6 separate regions of the Homo sapiens genome follow, and all the other regions are linked to region 6. Evidence: promoter capture Hi-C in 16 types of primary human blood cells and fetal thymus (Javierre and others, 2016). All regions are on one chromosome and are shown on one strand. The core of a region is centred on a gene start or on the middle of the fragment in contact, and the rest is flanking DNA. Distances in the headings are between cores, read along the strand shown. Region 1 has its middle 70 kb from the start of SMYD2. Region 2 overlaps SMYD2 (SET and MYND domain containing 2). Region 3 overlaps LOC124904509 (a long non-coding RNA gene). Region 4 overlaps SMYD2 (SET and MYND domain containing 2). Region 5 overlaps SMYD2 (SET and MYND domain containing 2). Region 6 holds the start of KCTD3 (potassium channel tetramerization domain containing 3).

Region 1 (3,331 bases), core at 800-3,299, 1.4 Mb before region 6:
TGGCACCAGGGCTGCATGGCACAGCTGCGTCTTTTATTCCAAAGGGCCCTCTAAAAATCACTAGGTTTTGCTTTCCTGGCAGAGCATCAGTCCTTCATGGAAGGCACCTACTGTCAGGACAACCGGGCAGCTTCAAAGGCCTAAGGATTCCTGCGACGAAGGGAGTGCAGCTTCCTCCATGTGAACGATAGGTCACCCTGGGGTGGCCAGCAACTCGCTCAGCTCCTCGTGGCTGCTCTGCCCTGGCTGGGGAAAATGAGTCCCTGCTTTAGAGCCAGAGGAACACAATGACCTCCTTATCCCTTTTTAAACAGCCACTTTCCTTGCAAATCTCTGCTAATAAGCACAGCTTATCTTTATTTACCAGGTAGCTCCTTTCCCTTCTGAGATATCAGAAGGCCCAATGAGAGGAAGCAGAGAGAAAAGGGTTTTCTACAAAGTGACAAGGAGACAGCACTTTTCTGTCTAAAAATACACAGATGTCCTTCTCCTTAGTGGTGCTAACTTGTTATAGATAGTTTGGGGACAGCTTTGAAAAACTTATGAGAATTCCATGTAGCCTGTGATTGGTGGGAGTTCCCACTTAACTGTTCTGTGTTCTTTTCATCTTTCCATCAGCTGAGCTAAACACTGCAAAGCAAAAAAAACTTTAAAACCAATTGGTCTAGCCCCCACCTCTGAGCAGAGTTACACGTAACCATTCAATATTCTTAGATTAAATGACTTTAATAAGCTCTCGTGATTCTACCACTCTAACCCCATAAACCAGGAGTGAAATCCTCAATTCTGAGTTCAGATACTAGGAAATCCTTTTTCTGCAGCACACTTTATGACTTTTATGCATTTTAATTCTAAAATGCTACTTTCCTAATTAAATGTAGTACAATCTTTCCTAATCTTATGTAGTACAATTGCAGCTCAATCATATTTTTGGGGAACTCTAGAATACCCTGGAATATATAAGCCACAGCTATGCATAAATATATATATATATATATAAAAGGATACAGTAAGTTGAGACTCCTGATCTATAAATAAGTCTGTTCACTTGCATAATTATGAGGACTGAACAGGATAAATTTCACTCTTGTAAAAACCAATAGGCCTAGGAAAGACTCAAATCTCTATCTCAGTTTCACAGGGAGCTCTAGGGAAGCACATTCCCAAAGCAGACGTCGTTGGGTAAAAGCCAATGCCCTGCTCTAGGTCAAAATATTGCAAATTTCCTAAGCAAAATTTGTTTCTGTTCTAGAAAAATAGGTTATGTTCACCTGGATCACTTACCAAAGGCTTCTGGGATTCAATGGAATACGAGGACCTACTGAACTGTGAAGTGCTTGAAGGCAGAAAATGTATCATTCATTTTTAAAATCCCTGACATTAAGCATAGGGACTGGTGGTGCTGGTGGTGGTGGTGGTGATGATGATAATGATGATGACGATGATGATAGCAGCAACTGTTCATTGAGCACTTACAATGTGTCAGGGACTTTGCTGTTTCCTTTACATATATTAATTCATTTATAACTCAGTATTATATATACTTATATACTTATATATTTACTACTTACAGTATATATATATAATATATATTATATACATTAATTCATTTATTACTCACAGCAACCTGTGAGCCAGGTACTATTAACAACCCTATCCTACAGATGAGGACACTCGGTAATAAACTCAGAGTTTAAGTAATGGCCAAAGCCAGAGAGTTTAAGTAATGGCCAAAGTCATACCTCTGGTAAATGGTAGAGACAGGATTCAAAGCCAGGTCTTTCTGAACCTGTAAATTGCACTACTCCTGAACCTGTAAATTACACAACTATGACAATATAGCCTGCTACATGGTAAATGTTTAATAAATGTATTTGGACAAAACTGAGCAGGTGTAGTGGAATTGGTGGGATAATTTTCTCCCTACTTTCAATTTCTATCTGACTTGCGCAGGCATTTGTTTGTTACAGACCACATTCTTGTGATTGTTATTGTGATGGTCTTAGTTCTCCAAACTACACTACAAGTCTCTTGAGGGCAAGACAACATATTCTTCACAATAATAATAGATGCTGTATTATGCTCCATGCTTTATACATTTTTAATCCTTATAATGGATCTGAAAGGGATATATTAGCATTTCCATTTTTCGAATGAGGAAACAAATGCAAAGGTGAATGACTTGCCTGTGGCTACCAAGCTAACAGTGGGAGATTCAAACACCTTCTGTCTGCCTCACATTTTTCCACTTTGCTCTGCTGAAAGCCAAACACTTACATTACCCAGCTCTAGAGATTTAGCATGGTCTAGGATACTTGAATATTATTGTCTCAGTTACTCTTCATTCAGAGCTCTCTCTCCTGGCTAGACTGGTGAAAATCATAGAGCTCTGGTAGATGAGGAATAGGGAGGAAAAAGATATCACATTTCTGGTCTGGTTTGGTTCTCTGATCTCATTTGCTTGGATGGGCTACAGAAAATCAGCAGTGGGGGTCGGGGAATTGGGGGCCAAAGTTTAGTTACTTAAGAGAGCTGGACAGAGGAGAAAACCCTCCACTTTCTTTGTCCCATCTGCCACACCCAAGAGCTGGCATCACACCACTGCTGACATGTACAGTGTCTGTTGGCTGGGCTGAGAACCCCATGTAACCTCCACAGCTAAGGTGTCCTTGGGGGATACAGGCCAATTTCTCCAGCAGCCCCAGGTTCCAGAGGGACAATAATGTCTCATCAGGTCCTAACACTGTCATGTGCTACCCCTACTACTGGGGTTAGAATGTTTCACTAGGATCCATAATATCTCCTAGCTATGTAGTCTCACCTCCCTACAAATCTGAGATATGGTTTCTGACACAAGGGAAGGGTATCTGTTAGACTGTAAAGATGTACCACTTTTATTCTCAGCTAGAGGCCTTCTCTTTGGGGTGATGACCAGCTAGTAGCTGCAGGTGTGGGAAAGGGTTGCCTTTTCTTGATACTTGGCCACCTTTTACGAAAGAATGCAAAAGTGAGCCTAAAGACAATAAATATTAGATAGAAGAATAGATTCCTAAGAATATATTCCTTTCTAATATTAGAAAGAGGAATAGATTCCTTGGCCAGTCAGCCTCTGTATGTCTGAAATCACCCAAAGAGTTCTACTTAAAAAAAAATGTTTAGATTGAGTTATCCAGTTAAAATCAAACTCTCCAGGCTGACTGATATCAATGGCTCATATGTGCAATTGGCTTTCCTCCTGGTTGTAAGCAAGAGGACAAGGACCACATCTTCCCTGTGCACCCAGCATAACATGGCCCCTAGCAGGTGCTCCATAGGCACTTGTTGTACACAT
Region 2 (3,497 bases), core at 813-3,312, 1.2 Mb before region 6:
AACTACCCTTCGATGCATTTGTTTATTTGATTTCCTAGGACCTGATTCCTTGGGCATCACTTTCCAGGAAGCCAAGTGGGCCTTGGTGCAGTGCAGAGGTGGCCCTCCCCGAGGTCAAGACCAGGAAGCTGCTACCTGTTTATCTCAGGCACCAGGCTAACCACATACTTTGCTTAGGCCTTTAGCAGCCAGGAGGTGGGGGAGTGCACTTGGCCATAGGCCATAGCCAGCCTGGGGCAGTTCATCCTCATCAGGCTTCGAAACCCCTTTCCCTTTTTGTATTCTCGGAGCAAGCAGGAGAGGGGCTGTGGTCTCTGGAGGGTCAGGGAGGTGACATTGGCCACCAGAGCAATGACACACATGGCTGTGAGTGCCCGTAGGAGCATGAGCCCCAGTTTCTGGGCAGTTTTAATTGGGGGAAAAAATCCCTTTGGGCTGAAATCATATCAGCATTGTGATTTCAAAGGCAGCATTTTCAGAGATCAAGCACTTTTTCCCTGTAGTTTAGAAATTTCTGTTCTCAGAACTTTGACCTTCATATAATCAGAAAGCTCAAAGCACCTCGCATAGGCGAATCTCTCTCTCTCCTTCTCGCTGTCCCTGAAAAGCAGACAGTGAGCAGCAGGAGCAGTAATGTCCCAATTTTCCAGATGAGGAAATTGAGGTGCAGAGAAACTCAGACGGGTGTCTCCGGGTCTCTCAGGGGATCACACACCCTTCCTCCCTTAGGAAGCTGGCATTTCTCAACATCTGAAAAAAACGTGAGAAATAATCCACTAATACAAAAAGCTGCTTGAAAGCGACAACGCACCTGTGTTTGACAGTGTATAGTGAAGTAGCAATTAGCTGTGGGTATTGGGTTCTGAGAGCTGCATTCTATCAGGGAGGAATATTTGTGGCATTTGTTGTTTTTGCTGTTGTGTGTTTTTTGGTTTTGGCTTAGATAGTACTTGAATTGTGGATTTCAGTTTTTAATATGGTGAAAGTGTGAGATGGTAGATAGGATTATCAGTGCATGCAGAACAACCTCTTAGAATGTGATAGCCAACTATTAGATTTTTAAAAAATGTCTTGCAAAGATTCAGTTCCTCTGACTTAGCAAGTAAGTAGTGAAGGAAGCTAAACAGTCTGCCTATCTCATTTTAAAAACTGGGTTTTCTCTTCTGACTGACAGTGTTGCATTGATGAATCATAGCTGTTGCCCCAATGTCATTGTGACCTACAAAGGGACCCTGGCAGAAGTCAGAGCTGTACAGGAAATCAAGCCGGGAGAGGAGGTGAGTTCATGGCTATGGGTGGCTGCAGCAGGGGGCTTGAGACTGCTCTTTAAAAGGCAATGTGGACAGATCTGTGCAGTGTCACTTGACAGTATGAGTTGTGAATGCCTCCAGCAGTTTAGCTGAGTCTGCCCTCAGGCTCTCCAGGAGTCAGTGATCAGATTTGTAACCTGTAGTTTAGATTCCCACACTTTGGGGCTTCTGTTTGGTACATACATTTCCATCTCTGGTCAAGAAAAACAGGAAGTAATAAATTTGAGTCAAATTTGTCCCAAAGCTTTATAGAGATTTACAGAGAAAGAAGACATTTACTACCAAAATGACCACAGTCAAACTTTTGATTATCTTTAGAGTCTCTGTATCCCTATTGCCAAACAACTGAGCTTGAGCCTTATTTTATTTTATTTTTTTTGGTGAATTCTTGCTTGTTCCCCACCATCCCTCAAAGGTCCAAAGCAAAAGAAAGCAAGCAACGCAGCAGTAGCTAAAGAGCTGGCACTCCAAGGGACACATCAGAATTTCGTGTTCTATCAGTTCCACATCTGAACTTCAGGTCGCAGTTCACTTTTTAGGAATCTAAATCAAAAGTCCAGGTATATGCAGTAATAGGAGAAGTCAAGGCAGTCTGTGGCCAAGGGGCACCTTAGTTTCCCTCCTCAGCTTCAGGACGTGGAGAGAACCAGTCTTCCCATCACCTGCTCAGCGATTCCCTGTTCCCTTCCCATGTGTGATTCCTGACTACCTCATGAGACGTCTCACCTGGGAAGGGCTGGCCTGATGGATTGCTGTAGTATGCTCTGTGTTCTTAAGTAAATTCCCAGCAAGACACATGAGTTTTTAGGAACTTGTAATCACACTTGGGTTAATTTCAGTTTAGCAATTTGTAATGCTATTTTACGGTGCATGCCTGGGTATTTGAAGTGTGAAGTGTAAAATATAACTGTCAGCGTGCTGAATGACAAGTGCTTTGCTTTCTCTGGAAGGCACTCACTAATCCACAGCTGCACTGGGAGCTGAAGCCCAAGATGCAGGCAGGTTGGCCCTTCTACCTTCAGCTAAATCCATTACGATGAGGGTGTGTCCCCTTTCGGCTGGGGTGTCTGAGTTTCCAAAGGTCTTATGGAGACTGCTCTGAAGCCTTTCTTGAAACAGATAATTGCAGCCAGTCAGAATGCAGTCACCCAGGCTCCAGTGCACCTGTGGGCTGACTGCAGAGATGAGCAGGTTGTCACCTAAGCTGGCTCAGTCTGGCTGGGAGCAGTGGTACTGGAGTGGCCTTTGTCGCCATCTTCTGGAAGCTTCCGCATGTTGCACTGTGAGTCAGTCATTACAGAGATTGTTGGCAGGCTCTTGTGGTGTGAGGCAGGGCAGGGGTGGCTGCAGTTTCCTTTTGCCCTTATGTTCTCCCAGATCTGAAACGCAGTAACCTCATTTTTGGGAAGTCAGTGCTTTGGGGATTACTTACCCTTCAGAGAAGGAGAAACCCCATTCCCCAGGGTTTCGGGGTGAGCTGCAACGTGTCCAGTACCTCCCCATGGGCTGGGGAGAGCTTAGCTGCCCCTGCAGCACCCAGCCCTGTGCGTGTCCTCCCCTGCCTGCCTGGTGGTGCCCGTGGTCACTGGCACGCTAGCGGCTTCATGAGATCCATCTGTTCAGTCAGACATTTGCCTGATTGTGTGGGATGAGTAGCCAGTGCTGTCCCAGTGAGTAGATAATGGACATCTAAATGCTGGTCTCCTCCATATGCTCCAAGCCTTAGTTACAGACCCCATTAGGAAAAGGCAAGGACGGTGGAGCCCCATGAACCAAAGGTAAGGACTTTCCAAGCTCGCTGCCCTGCAGGATCAGGAGCTGCCCGCTGGGCCAGGCCGCAGCATTCTGGTGTCCTAGAAGATGTGTTCACCCTCCGCTGGCCACCCAGAGCTGTGGGTCCCAGCCCACTGAGTGGAGCCTCTTGCTCCATTGCCAGTTGATGTGAGGAGAAGGGGAGCTTAGCTGCATGTGTGTGGTGTGTGCGTGCTCATGCCCTCCCCTGCACGCAGCATCCAGTGATGACGGCAACGAAGCATTTGCGCCGTCTCAGGTGGTGAAACATGAAACTACATGAAGGCCAGGCAGAGGCAGCTGAGGGAGGCAGGGATCCTCTGAACCCTCCAGGACACTGTTTTAAGGACTCCTTGATTCTACAGACTCTTTCCACTAACCTGCACCTTGGCTTCA
Region 3 (3,411 bases), core at 444-2,943, 1.3 Mb before region 6:
TAAGAGTTTCTTCTTCTGGGGTAACTGCCTCTAGTAAAAATGCTGCAATGCAGTTAAGATGCTGGTGTGAGGACTGTAAATTATGCGTTAGGGGAATTTTGCTATGCTGCACTTCAGCCTGGAAGCAAAGGTTTTTTTCTGTTCAAGTCCACAACTTTTGCTTGCCAGTGAGATGGCAGAGCATTACGTGGGTGCCTTTTGGCCATCTGGATCCATAGGCACCCGAAGACAACACTAATTCCATGATTAGGAAACTCTCATCACTTCTACTAACATAATTGTTTTTTAACTACTTCAGAATAGATTCTGATGAATAAAGCTACTGATCTCTTTAAACACTTCATAGATTCACTACCTAGAATTATGTATTCATTCTTTGGATATGGTGTCATAAAGTCTAGGTACAAGTTCAAAAACATGCCCCGTGTAACATACTTGTTAAAATCCAGTGTCACCTCCCATCAAAGCCTGATCAGCAATTTCAGTACCTCAATCACTCAGAAAATATTTCCAAATTTAACACATAGCAAGTATCAAGCTCTCCACTAAGAAGACTATGAAATAAATACAATATACAGTATTTCCCTTTGAAGACCTTTTAACTTACATGGGACTACACAAAAGTGTGTGTGTGTGTGTGTGTGTGTGTGTGTGTGTGTTTATGGTTGATGATCATAAGCCAACAAGGTACAGATAAGACTTACTTTAGGAAGTAGGGACTGTTATGGAAGAAATGTTTGGAGAAGGCTTCACAACATAGATAGAACTCAAGATGTGTACGACAGCTAAGGTTTGGGTTTTCAAAGCCAAAAAGAGAGCTTGGCCTTGATGAGGCATCTAATAAAGGGCAACTGGGAGTTTTTCAACGAAATGTCACTATTAATGTAGTTATTTTAAGACTATGTGTTTGACAGCAGTAACAAAGGCATATAGAATAGGGAGACCTGAATGATGACGCTCATCTGTAAACTTGTGTATTTAAGAAACTGTGATAATTTTCATTATGAGTGTTCATTTTCCCTGGGTGGTAGAGATGTCATCTTGGTCAGTTTCCTGGGGTTGCTTCTTGCACTTGGCTGGCACAGTGATGCTAAGGCAGTGAGTGCTTGGCTGGGGTTGGAACACCTGGTCCTTGATCATCAATCCACACAGATCTCTGGGTCATCACAATGGTGCTCTTGGATGGTGTCTTGGTCTGTTCTGGTTGCTGTAACAAAATGCCACAGCTATTTCTCACAGTTTGGGGAAGAGAGATCAAGGCACCAGCAGATTCAGTGTCTGGTGAGGGCCTATTCCTAATACATACTGTCTTTCTGCCTCACAATGTGAGAGGCCAAACAAGCTCCCTTGGCCATTTTAATTTTTATTTTATTTACTTTTTTTGAGATAGAGTCTTGCTCTGTCACGCAGGCTGGAATGCAGTGGCGGGATCTCAGCTCACTGCAACCTCCGCCTCCCAGCTTCAAGTAATTCTCCTGCCTCAGCCTCCTGAATAGCTGGAATTACAAGCACCTGCCACCACGCCCAGCTAATTTTTGTATTTTTAGTAGAGACAGGGTTTCACCATGTTGGCCAGTCTGGTCTTGAACTCCTGACCTCGTGATCCACCCGTCTCGGCCTCCCAAAGTGCTGGGATTACAGGCGTGAGCCACCGCACCCGGCCACCTTGGCCGTTTTTATAAGGGCCCTAATCCCATTCATGAGGCCCATGCCCTCACAGTCTAATCATCTCCCAAAGGCCCCGATTCTTAATATCACCATGTTGGAGGTTAGGATTTCAACATATGAATTTGGTGGGGAAAAGGGGGTGAGCGGGAGTGGCACAAACATTTCAGATCACAGCAGATGGCTAACTTGTCTACTCTAGTGCTCCTCTTGGGTGCATGGGAAATCACTCTCCTATTTCCCATGAAGTATTTCAGTCATTTCTCCCACACACTGAATTTCTATTACACAGGGAGTCTGGGGGTCAATGTAAAACTAGGACATAGGTCAGCCTTGTTCTGAATCCCCTCAAACCCATGGGCGGGGTTGGGTTTAGTTATGTTGTCTCACTCATCCAAGGTTCAGTCTGGAAGGAAACTATGGCACATGCCTCTTTCTCAGAGAAATACCCTCAACTTCTCTCTGGCTTTCCTTCCAATTCTCCTTTATCACAGGTCTGGAGAATCTTTTCTGGCAGAGGGAGTTGTGGCTCCTGCATCATCCTGAATTTGCTAGGACTGGAGCCCTGAGTCCCCCAAGTCCTTAGGCTTTTGCAATCCAAAACCCTAGGCTTTTGAATCTAAATTCAGGGGACTTTTTGCTCCTATTCTGCAATATCATTTCTTCTCTAAGTCAATGCCACTGACTAAGTGGGAAGTTAACGGTAAGGGGTAAGAGGAAACACAGAGTTGGAATGTATGATCCCAGGCTAATATCTCAAAATTTGAACTCACTCTGCTGTTGAGAGTCTACTGCACAAAACCGGACATAAAGACTTAAGGGCTGAGTGGCATTAAGAATGGAAATAAAAGATTAGACAAGAGATATGGCGAATGAAGAAATAACAAAATCTTGTTTGGGGAATAAACACAAGGCTCAAGTGGGGGGCGGGGGGGAATGAACTGGAAGGACTGGATGGAGGTGATGATGTCAGTTGTCCTTGGACATATTTTTTATGGTTCATATTCCCTCTCCTTTCTCTTCACTCGCCCCAATTACCGTGTCCTGTTAATTAAAAGTTCTTCAAATCCATGTCCCTCCTTCCCATTGCCACCGTCACTGCCCTTGTTCATTCCAGTAACATCTCTCCTCTGGACCCTTTATTGCATCAGGCGCCTCAGTTCCCTCTGTCTCCTCAGCCCCTTCTAGTGTATTCTCTATTTAGCTAAAAAATGAACTTTCTACAGCAAAACTCGGATCATGTCAGCCAAAATTCTTCTGACTCACGTGCCTACACAGTGCCGTCTAGCTCCTAGGCTCATGGGTTTCATGATGGGGCCCACTCCTGCCCATCCACCTTCATCCCAAGTACTCTAAGGAAAGCTGTAGCTCTGGCTGAACAGAGAGGCAGCATGGTGGAGTGGTTCTGAGCCTGGACTCACTGCTAGACAGCTTGTTCATACATGTCACTTCTGTGATTCTGTGTCTGGAATTTATTCCTTCCGGTGGGTTCTTGGTCTCGCTGACTTCAAGAATGAAGCTGCAGACCCTCGCCATGAGTGTTACAGTTCTTAAAGATGGTGTGTCCGGAGTTTGTTCCTTCAGATGTTCAGATGTGTCTGGAGTTTCTTCCTGGGGTAGGTGCATGGTCTCGCTGACTTCAGGGGTGAAGCCACAGACCTTCGCAGTCAGTGTTACAGCTCTTAAAGGTGGCGCGTCCGGAGTTGTTTGTTCCTCCTGGTGGGTTCATGGTCTCGCTGACTTCAG
Region 4 (3,627 bases), core at 240-2,739, 1.3 Mb before region 6:
TGCGTCCATTGTTGCCTTGGCCAGACACCTCTCCAAGAGTGCTAAAGGCTCACATTGCTTCCTGGGGATTTCCTCTTTACATGGAGTAAGGCTTCTTAGGGGATCCTAGCCATGGTGTATGTTCTCCCCAAGCCCTCTTCTGTCTGCAGTGCTTTCGGATTTTGCTTTATTTGATACAATTTGGTTCTATCTTGTCCCGTTACTTTCCTCTTAGTTCACTTGACTCAGTGTGATGGTGCCAGAGGAAAGATTTTAATTGCTAATGCATGAAAGGGTAATGGGAGGAAATACAAAAGAAACAGAAATTCCTTTTTAGTTGGGTGCGTTATTTTGTAACCTGTGTGTTTTAATGAACTGTATTTATTTTTCTAAATACGCCTGGGAAGCAAAGTATATTACTCATTCACCCACTCACCCATAAATTGTACCAGGATATTTTCAAGAGAAGAGTTTTAGAAAGTTGTTATATAGAATAATCATTGTGCAGTAGGACTTTCTAGGGTATATTTCTTAACTCTAATGAATGTAAAGAAGAAAACCTTTGTGTTTTGCTGCTGAGGGGGTTATGAGTAAGCTTTGAAAGTAGGAAGGGATTTTTTAAAGTGTGTATGAGGAGCATGTGAGAAAATAGTAGGCCCTTATCATTGACTAGAAAATAACTGAAGTATAGAACATGTCTAATAAATGCTGCTGTTATGGGTGATTAGTGTAATGGGGCCAGAGTCGTAGGTTCAATCCTGGTTCAGTTCACTCCTGTCAGCCATAGGAAGCATCTTAAATTTGGGCCACTCTTTTTTTCTAAATCTTTAACATCACCAGTAGGAAGAAATGTGTGTGAATGACTGAGTATGTCTCATTGCTTGTATTGGGAAAACACAAAGCATATGTCCTAGTGATGGTAGCTCAGCAGCACGGGCCATCTTTGTATAAGGTGGTCAGGTGTCCACCTGATTGCTTTTGCACACTTCTTCTCAAGGATCATGCTAGTGGAAAGCAGAAATCCTGTGACATTTTCTCCCTGTTCCACATTTTAAGAAATAAGATGTGGATGTGTACAGGTAGGCTGTGTTTGTTGTTAGAAGAATAGAAACACCAAATGCTAGAGGCAGAAAAGGGACTTCATGATGAAAATCCAGTCTCCTTATCGAGGAAGGCAACATATTTGCTCAGCAGAAAACTGGATGCCATAATAATCACTCTTTTCTTCCAGTGCTGGAAATGCTGGTGCACCATGAGACAATTTCGCAACTCTTTATGCATCTTTAAGCATTTTTGACTGTGCACGAAAGTGAAAGTCATGCACAGTAGTTATTATCTTAGTTGAAAATGAATTAGAAGTTTTAAAAGAGGACCATCAGTATGAAAAATTCCATATCTCACCTTTTTTATGGATTTAAGTTACACAGTCTGTCCTCATTATGGGAAAATCAGAAAGTGCAGACTAAAAGAACAGAACAAGTATTCATAATCTTGTTCCTTGAGAGAATACTTTGGTATATATCTTCCTGAATCCCTTCTGTGCTTATATGTGTATTTTATTAATTTTTTTTTTTTTTTTTTGGAAAATGAGATCCTAGTTTACAGAAAATTTTATAAGTATTGCAGTCAGGGCAGGAGCACTAACTCGAATTTTGAAGAATAGTGGGAAAAGTTTTAGAAAAATTGATAACATTTAAAAAAGCATAAAGAGTTGCAAAATCACTCTGTATACAGCAGTACTGCCAGTATTCAAAAATACGGTAATTTATAACATTCATTCCTATTCATCAGGTTAGCCTAATTTGTTTTTCAATTTTGTCCAGTCTGGTTGCTTGTAATTTCTTATGGGCAAAACTAGGGTAGTTGCCGCTGTCAGGTTCTTTAAAATATATGGACCATCTCTATGATAGAAGAGAATGTATCAAAATATGCTTAAAACCTGACATTTTTACTAGATACTATCACATCTTCCTTTTTTAAGAATTAAAGCTGTGCAGTGCCATTGTGTTATATCTCTGCCCTTCCTCCGTTAATCCACCTTCAAAAAAGAAAGTGAAACGTTATTACTGTGGTAAATTTCCTTTGATGAAATTTAACCTGATTCTGCATTTTCTTGAATTTATCCAGCTACCTGATTTTAACTGCTATGAGCGGGACTGTATTTAATTGTAGGTGTACTTTTATCTTGGTTCTGACATTGCCATAAACTGCTTGAAGTCAAAGACTTCATCTCCCATCCCTGCCTCTAGGGTCAGTTGCAGCACTTGTTGAATGAATGAATGAATGAATGAGCAATTACCAATGTTTCAGAGCGCAGCCTGTGCCGGGCACCGTTCTGAGTGCTTCTTGTGGATCTGCTGATGGGATCCTTTGTGCCTGATGAATGCCTGATGATCCCTATTTGGTCCACTTTTGTTGGTAGTCTTCAAGCTTGATATCTGATTATCACTGTTGGAAGGTGTAAACTCACAGACTCAGAATTCTGGACTTGCTAAGTAACTTAGGGATCATGTTATTTACAGCCAGGGAGACAGGCGCAAAGGGATTAAGAAACCTGCGTTGTCACACAGCTGCTTCGCTGCGAGTGGGGATAAAATGCAGGTTTCTTGAGTCCCAGGTCAGCAGCCCTCCTGCTTGACAGCACTCTGCTTTCCTCCCAGAGCTTTCCTTGTGTTTGATTCCCTTCCTTTTGAGGACATTTATATCAATAAATGTCACCATTATGTAGTATTTACAGTACCATTAATTTTAAATCAACTACATTAATAAATTGATATTTTATAAATAATAATTATATTAATAAATGTTCATATTTAACTTCCCAGGAATTCATTGTAGTTGCTAAACACCAAGGCACCACCTGCAGTTCAGAAAACAACAGCTTGCAGGCCCGTTAGGGACAGAGATTATGTCTTGGAGTTTTCTTGGAGTTGCTGGAGTCAGAGTGGGCATTTGTCTATAGTTGTTAATGATCCATCTGTCCCCAGCTGGTAGGTCCCCATATCCTCTCAGGTATCCCGAGGGTCATCTCTGTCTTTTCCTCTTTGCTCTGCAGCTGAGGAGGGAGCTGATTAGTCTGCAGGGAGACAGACCCACCTGTTCCCACCTCTTCGCCTCATCACCATGCTCTCATTTTAGGCTTTGGCTAAAAACAGATTCTCTTCTCCCTTGTGCATATCTTGTCATTTCTTTTCCTCCCTGCTCTTAGTTATATTTGGCGCGGCATTATTTAACTCTGCAGAACATCTTGGCCCAGAACTTGAGCTAAGGGGCTGCACCATAGACTGCATTAAATCATTAAGTGACATTATGTGCTTCCTTCTTGGGGGATCAGTGTGGAGGGAAGCGGGTAGGGAGATATCTTCATTCCTTCAACAACTATATTGAGTGCCTACTAAATGCCAGGCACTGTTGTCAGTTCTGGGGTTACAGCTATGAACAAAACAAAATTTCTTTATTTTCCTGGGGAGAGACAGATACTAAACCAAACAACTAATAAATATATAATATGCTCAGGTGGTGAGAAGTACTAAGAAGCAGCAGAAAGCAAGGAAAGGAAGAATGATGGGGAAGTGCTCTTTCTGACAGGGTGATTGTGGCAGGTATCTTGAGAAGGTGACATTCCAGCAGCGGCTGGAGAGGAGGGAG
Region 5 (3,822 bases), core at 245-2,744, 1.3 Mb before region 6:
CTTTTCTCTGTAATATTTCCTTCCTTATCCTCTGCCTCCTTCCTAGGTAAGGCCTTAGAGCCTTCAGTTTGTTTATACTCAAGAAAGATCCAGCTCAAATTGCATCTCTTTCCAAAGCTTTATCTTTTTCTGTTTGTGTGTGTGTGTGTGTGTGTGTGTGTGTGTGTGTGTGTGTGTGTGTGTGTGTGTGTTTGAGACAGAGTCTCTCTCTGTCACCCAGGCTGGAGTGCAATAGCACGATCTCTGCTCATTGCAACCTCCGCCTCCCAGGTCCAAGCGATTCTCCCGCTTCAGTCTCCTGAGTAGCTGGGATTACAGTCGCTTGCCACCACGTCTGGCTAATTTTTATATTTTTTCATAGAGATGGGGTTTCACCATGTTGGCCAGGCTGGTCTCGAACTCCCGACCTCAGGTGATCTACCCACCTTGGCCTCTCAAAGTGCTGGGATGATAGGCATGAGCCACCGCACCCGGTCCAAAGCTTTTTCTTAACTACTTCAGCCCACACAGCTTTCATTTTATTTATCGACTTGTTTGTATTTATTTTACAATAATTTAATATTTACATTTTTTGAACATCCTACTATTCCAAGCATTGTGCTCTCACTGTGGAGTTTCAGAGATGAATAAGACAACATGCTCAGTAAGTGCTATTTCCCTAACTTCTGTATCTTCAAAGAGCTCAGTCCTAGGGGTAGCTTTCTGCTCTCAGTTCCAGGTCGTGTGGGCCATTTGGATGCTGAATCATTTTGCCTGATATTTATATTTACCACTCTCATGTAGGCAGGGCAGATTTCCCCAAATAACTCTTTTTTTGAGATGGAGTTTTGCTCTTGTTGCCCAGGCTGGAGTGCAATGGCGCGATCTCGGCTCACTGCAACCTCCGCCTCCCAGGTTCAAGCATTTCTCCTGCCTCCGCCTCCCGAGTAGCTAGGATTACAGGCACCCGCCACCACGCCCAGTTAATTTTGTATTTTTACTAGTGACGGGGTTTCTCCATGTTGGTCTGGCTGGTTTTGAACTCCTGACCTTAGGTGATCCGCCTGCCTCGGCCTCCCAAAGTGCTGGGATTACAGGCATGAGCCACCGTGCCCAGCCACTCATTTTTTTTTTTTTAACAAAAATATTATTTCCCAGTATGGCTGTAGCACAGTACTTTTGTACCTAGCAAATAACACTTTTGAATAGAAATTACTTAGCTATGATAGATTAACATGTCTTCTTACTGCCTCATGTGCAAGGTTTTACAGTATTAAAAATGTTCTCCGTTCAGAGAAATACAAATGGAATCAATAAGGATTGAAAGAAAAATGTCTGCTAAATCTGTTCAAACGGTATCCGATCAGTTTAAGTTTTCAAGGTAAAGTCCACAATTCGGGGTAATTCGCCTAAACAAATTGGTAATTCAATTTTTTATATTTTGTTTGCAGGAAAATAAAACTGAGGGGATGAGAGAATCTCAACTCTTAAAATTCTTCTGTAGGCAATTAAAAAGATAACATTTTCCAGGCCAGGCGCGGTGGCTTACGCCTATATTCCCAACACTTTGGGAGGCCAAGACGGGCGGATGGCTTGAGGACAGGAGTTCAAGCCCAGCCTGGCCAACATGGTGAAACCCCGTCTCTACTAAAAATACAAAAATTAGCTGGGCGTGGTGGTTCATGTCTGTAATTAATCCCAGCTGCTTGGAGGCTGAGGCAGGAGAATCTCTTGAACCCGGGAGGCAGAGGTTGTAGTGATCCAAGATTGTGCCACCGCACTCCAGCCTAGGTGACAGAGCAAGACCCTCTCTCAAACAAACAAACAAAAAACACACATTTTCCTGTAAGTAAGATTCAGAACAGTTCTGTCTGGACAGGTAGTTAACACATGTTTTGCTGCAGCAGACCTGACCATGTTCTGGGAACTCACAATTAGCATTAGACTATAAAGGAATTTTTACCATGGTTTATTTCTGTTTTACGGACAGAACGTTGAAGTGAGGAATACTGTTAGGAGTATTTTAAGTTTTCAAGTAGTTAAATTTATATTACTTTGGTTTTGTCATTTTCTTTGATTTTTAATCACGTGAGTTTTATGCAACAGCAAGCATAGGGGAATCTAATAATATTGGTATTCATTACAAAGTACTAATAGTAACATCTGTCATTTAACTGGAAGAAGCGGTGGATATTATTTTATTGTCAGTTCCTTTATGAGAGAACTGAGTTAGAAAGGCATTCGTTGTTTCTTTGCTTTTGACTTTTCAATCAGAGGGCATTAGAGAAGTAAAGATAAAAGTAGCAAGGAAGTGTTACTCTGACCTTGCACAAAAGTTAAGACAGAGCATTTCCAGAGGAAAACATGAGATTTTAAAAGTGTGTACATTCATTCTTTGGACGAGCTTTAACTGTTAGAGATTGTGCAGGGCCTACAAGAGGAGCTTCGGATATAGGTGTTGTCCAGGGGCTGAAAAGGAAATGTAATGTTCACTGTTTCACAGGCTAAATATTTCTCTCCTATATTCATAAGCTTCATGAATTTTTTTTGCTTTCTAAGGCAAAGGTAAATTTTGTCTGGGCCAGAGCCTGCATGAAAACAAATCTGTGTTATTTTATAACTAGGTCAGCCATTACTCTGACCACCAAGCCCAGCTTCCTCCTTGTAAATTACAGCTCCGGTTCCAATAGTTGGGAAAACCTATTAGTTGCTACCTTACTGCCCTAAATATTTCCTGCCTCCCCAAGAGGATGCGGGCTCTAACTTTTAACAAGCCTCAGAACAAAGCCTGGTGCTGAGCGAAGGTTCAGCACAGCCCTGGGAAGAAGCCCCCCGCTGCACGTGGGTCCCGTTCACTGTTACATTGTGGATTAAAGTGATGTATGGAGCACCTTTCAGTATTACAGAAAAACCTGTAGCCTGAGTATTATCCTTGTCCCCTGACCAGGGTTATAATAGGGTTCTGCCACAATTCCTCCAATTTTTATTTCTCTTAAACAAGATTGGAGGCCTTGCTAGTATAACCACCCTCGCTGGGTGGGAGGCTAACTTTGTTTCTGATTGTCTTATTTCAACCTATGGTGAAGTTATATTGCACTGCTGGGGCTTTTTTCCCATTCTCTTTTTCATTTGGCTGGGGCTGCCTCTGTTCAACAGAGCATACTTGTCACTTCTTCTGTCACCATTAGTTAAAAGTAATTGTTATTGCAAACCCCCTCTATGCCAGTATCATTTTCTTTCATGGTGAAACCCACTAAGCATTCATTTCAGTAGCAGAAAGTAGGGAGCTTACAGAATCAAATCCTTTTGATCTAGACCAACAGCACCTGCGGCAACGCATTAACTAGCAGGAGTTGTTAATTACATTTCTAACTTGTTGATCTTCATGGTTTCCGATTTTTAAAAGCAAGGAAATTAATCACTGTGTGTGTCTCCTCCAGTAGGAAATGACAGGAGCGTGTCTTCTAAGTTCTGTTCCAGTCAGTAATAATCAAATACTTGCATTTTCCTGTAACATTTCTTTTCTTCCTTTGTGGATAGAACTATTTCTTAAGTTCAAAGAGCCCTTCTGTTCACAGTAGGGTAGATATTTGCCCATAAAACAAAGGCTTTAGAAACATAGATCCTCTAGCTATGAGTCTGAGTGAGACTGTGCTGATGGTATTTCAACAGTTGACATCACTTTAAAAAAAAAGCACAAAGACTAATTAAAAGTGTAGTAGTACCCAGCATTTATTGAACGTTTACAGTGTTCTAAGCAATGTATTAAATGTTTTGCTTGCATTTTCTCATTTAACTTTCATAGCAAACCTATGAGGTGGAAACGATATCTTTATTTGACAG
Region 6 (3,312 bases), core at 139-2,638:
TCTTTTTTTCAGCTCATCAGTTATCGTTAGTGTTAGTGTATTTTATGTGTGGCCAAAGACAATTCATCTTCCAATGTGGCCCAGGAAAGCCAAAAGATTGGACACCCTGGTTTAGATTCCTAGTTGCTGCTGCTTTAATCTGAACTGTTACTCATCTTCCCTGTCTAAAGTGAAGATAATGAGGTACAATGCAGTGGTAAGGATGGTGAACAGTGGCCTTGAATTCAAGCTGCTTGCCTTGAAATTCCTGCCATCCCACTTGCTACCTATGTAATTTTGAGCAAGTTTTTTTGATCATTTTCATTCCCAAATTTCCTTTTTTAAAAATAATTATAACATTAGTTGTGACGAAGAAAGATGACAAAATATCTAAACCACCGGGTATATGATAAACACAAATTAGCTATTATTAAGCTTATCATCAACTGGGAGAAATAATACTTATCTTACATCCATATGTACTATTAACATCTTTCAAGTCGAATCTAGATAGAGCATATCACAACATTAGTATGCTTGCCAGAGGCTATTTTTTATTTTTTTGGTAAAAATTATGACAATGACAATAAAAACTTAACATCAGATACATTATCAGTTTGAATTATTATGATACAACTATGACAAAACAATTCATGTTAAGAATTTAGTACCACAAACTAATGACCTCTGAAACATAACGCACTATCTTTGTTAGTCTTTGTTAGCAGGGCATCAAGTATTATAGTATTCCGATTTAAAAAATATTTTAATAGCCACTAAGGTTTTGGGTTTGAATAGATACCGTTTAAAGCAAAAACAAATAAATAAACAAGCGCATAAAATTGTGTGTTTTCTGCGTGTGTCTAACATTAGTTGAGTGCTTACTATATTCCAGAAATAGGTTGCTGGGCATTACACAGTCTAGGGGTTTTTGTCCTTTGGTTTCCTTCCTGCTTAACAAACAAAAGCAAAAAACAAAACAAAAAAACTGCTTGGGAGATTGGGGATTAAATTGAAGAGGGTAAAGTAAGCAGTTTTCTGGGGTAAACGCTGTAAGGTTTTAAAATCTCCAAATGTTCCCTGCATTTGCACTGTCTACATTTAGGCATCAACTTTTACTACCTCTAGGATTAGTTTTTCCTTTCCCAATCCATGTTGACAAAGTGGGTCATAAAGATCCGTAGATCGTTTGCCCAGATCTGCCCTCAATCTGCGAATCAGCTTCCTCGTTTTAGAAAATCTGAAATGTAAAAGGGAAAGGGGCTGGGATCGCGTGGGGAGGAGGAACGAAATGGAATCCCGCGTGGGCAGGCGGCTGGCCAGGAGCACATTCCCCTAGCCTCCCTACGCGCCAGCCCCGCGGCGTTGGGAAGCTCCTCCCTGACCTTTCCTTCCTCCTCCTCCTCCTCATTCTAGGCGGCAGTGGCGGGCGAAGCGTGAGCGCTGCGGTATTTTGTCCCGAACGGTGACCCCTCCTCCCAGGCAGGCTGCGGCGGCGTCGGTGGCAGCGGAGCACGGAGAAGAGGCCCGGGCGGCCCGGCGGCCTGGAGGCCGCGAAAGGTGGAGGCCGGGCCGCCCTTGTGCACCGCAGGATTGACCCGGGAAGGGGCAGAAGCTAGCGAGCCCCGCCCGGCCGCCGGGAAGGTGGGGGAAGCCCCGTGCACCCCCCGCCCTCCGGCCGCCGCCGCCCCGCTGGCCCTGCAGCCGTCGCCGCTGCCTCGGGCTACAGCCCCGGGCTCGGCGGTCCCGGCTGGGGAAGGAGGGCGGCGAGCGCGTCCGGAGCCGCCGGAGATGGCGGGAGGGCACTGCGGCAGCTTCCCCGCGGCGGCGGCCGGCAGCGGCGAGATCGTCCAACTGAACGTAGGGGGGACCAGGTGAGTCGGCGGGTAGCGGGCTTGCAGCGGGGATGCCTTGGCGGCCTCCTCCTTTGGTGTCGACGGGGACCGAGAGTCGCAGGAACGAGGGCGAGCGTGGGAGGCCAAGCCTGGAGGGGAACGTGGGGGCCTCCAGGCGGCAAGAACGTCGGGCGGATTTTGGAGCTGGTGAAGCATCTGCTCTGGGAAGGGAGAGGCAGAAGGGACGCTTGGAATTACCGAGGACCAGGCCCATGTGGCAGAGTAGCTGCTGTCCTAGAATGCCAACCTTTGCCCCTCCCAACAGGCAAGGAGAACCATTACACAGCCTTCCTTACCTCATCTCAGATTAGAGTGTATTTGAGGACTTTATTTAGTAGAAACCTGGCTTTGTGGTTTGGATGTTGGAGATGAACTTGCTTTCCTTTCTCTTTGGTCAACGAGGTGTCGGTTTTCTTAGGGAAGAGTGCGGTGTTCTTTTCCGCGCCTAATTAGGGGATTTGTAATTTGAAAGATTTCTGTGATGGGAGTGCAGTAGGTTTGCAGTACCTAGTTATTTATTTTCAGAATTTCTTGGTGCATGGGCTTGAAGGATCTGTTCAACTTCTAGGACAGTGTGTCCAGAAACTGCAGTTTGAACATTTGCTTTTAGGAAGCTCTGGATATTGGCACGGTGTGACGCCCTTGGAGTAAACAGACTGAATGCTCTTCTCTGTCTGTTCTCTTTCTGGCCTTCCGCCCCCCCCCCCCCCCGCCCCTTCTGTGCCTGTTATTAAGTTTGTTGGGGGAAAAAATCGTAGTTTTTGTGGATTTCCTATAACTTATGAGTCACTCCTCTCAGAAAAGGGAGTTTGCCAGCTGTTTGAAAGAAGGATTAGTTGAGTTTTAGGCTTGGTAAGGAGATAAACAAGGAAATGCTCTGGAATACAGTTAATTTTTCTGTGCTTGAGAATATGATTTTCAACCAGCATTTTAAAAGTATTTTAATGTCTTAGAACCATAGTGATAAAAAATGTCTACTGTAGTGCTTTAATCCTAAACATTTGATAGCTTTCTAGAATTTAACACAGAAAACCATGGTACTTCGTTCTTAGGGTTTTTCCTCTTCCCCCAAATCAAAACTTAGATAATTTACAACGTTATTGCAGTTGTATAGAAACCAGTCTTATGGAGATTTATGTCTCCTAATGTAAGAAATGGAGTTTTTCCTAAAATCACGTTAAAATATTGGAAGTTTGGTAACTTGTGGAATACCCCTAAAGAGGAGGCCTGCAATGTGTGTTGATTATACTGAAGAGTAGCAGTATAATCATTTACAATCCCTACACTGGTTTCTACTTGCTATTGATAGTTAATGTATTTCTTTTCTTTAATTTTCTTTTTTTTTTTTTTTGAGACGGAGTCTTGCTCTGTCGCCTGGCTGGAGTGCAGTGGCGCGATCTCGGCTCACTGCAGCCTCTGCCTCCCAGTTTCAAGCGAT

What was found. Contacts are between HindIII fragments. The CHiCAGO score rates a contact against its expected background, and 5 or more counts as called.
Region 1: a fragment that was not itself captured here is called in contact with the fragment with the promoter of KCTD3 in region 6 in 1 of 17 cell types (M2 macrophages); the score reaches 5.4 in M2 macrophages.
Region 2: a fragment that was not itself captured here is called in contact with the fragment with the promoter of KCTD3 in region 6 in 2 of 17 cell types (M2 macrophages and M1 macrophages); the score reaches 6.1 in M2 macrophages.
Region 3: a contact is called between a fragment that was not itself captured here and the fragment with the promoter of KCTD3 in region 6, in 1 of 17 cell types (M2 macrophages). The highest score is 5.2, in M2 macrophages.
Region 4: a contact is called between a fragment that was not itself captured here and the fragment with the promoter of KCTD3 in region 6, in 1 of 17 cell types (M0 macrophages). The highest score is 5.4, in M0 macrophages.
Region 5: a contact is called between a fragment that was not itself captured here and the fragment with the promoter of KCTD3 in region 6, in 1 of 17 cell types (M2 macrophages). The highest score is 7.0, in M2 macrophages.

Annotation. Positions count from the first base shown.
Region 1 is chr1:214,209,259-214,212,589 of GRCh38, forward strand. No RefSeq gene overlaps it. Among named protein-coding and RNA genes, the nearest start is that of SMYD2, 70 kb to the right of the region's middle. The HindIII fragment of the contact is 6,664 bases long and covers 1-3,331 here.
Region 2 is chr1:214,326,448-214,329,944 of GRCh38, forward strand. SMYD2 (SET and MYND domain containing 2) reads left to right here. Exons shown (of 12, transcript NM_020197.3): 7 at 1,175-1,277. Among named protein-coding and RNA genes, the nearest start is that of SMYD2, 47 kb to the left of the region's middle. RefSeq lists a silencer at 2,399-2,693 and an enhancer at 2,620-2,709. The HindIII fragment of the contact is 1,021 bases long and covers 1,553-2,573 here.
Region 3 is chr1:214,272,129-214,275,539 of GRCh38, forward strand. All of the region lies in intron 1 of LOC124904509 (a long non-coding RNA gene), which reads right to left. Among named protein-coding and RNA genes, the nearest start is that of SMYD2, 7.3 kb to the right of the region's middle. The HindIII fragment of the contact is 3,639 bases long and covers 1-3,411 here.
Region 4 is chr1:214,308,962-214,312,588 of GRCh38, forward strand. The region is part of intron 2 of SMYD2 (SET and MYND domain containing 2); the gene reads left to right. Among named protein-coding and RNA genes, the nearest start is that of SMYD2, 30 kb to the left of the region's middle. The HindIII fragment of the contact is 1,835 bases long and covers 573-2,407 here.
Region 5 is chr1:214,292,878-214,296,699 of GRCh38, forward strand. The region is part of intron 1 of SMYD2 (SET and MYND domain containing 2); the gene reads left to right. Among named protein-coding and RNA genes, the nearest start is that of SMYD2, 14 kb to the left of the region's middle. The HindIII fragment of the contact is 2,030 bases long and covers 480-2,509 here.
Region 6 is chr1:215,565,916-215,569,227 of GRCh38, forward strand. KCTD3 (potassium channel tetramerization domain containing 3) reads left to right here and starts at 1,389. Exons shown (of 18, transcript NM_016121.5): 1 at 1,389-1,853. The coding sequence starts at 1,771. LOC124904599 (a long non-coding RNA gene) reads right to left here and starts at 1,442. Exons shown (of 2, transcript XR_922599.2): 1 at 1,365-1,442; 2 at 512-1,219. RefSeq lists a silencer at 1,521-1,790 and an enhancer at 1,603-2,463. The HindIII fragment of the contact is 6,743 bases long and covers 413-3,312 here.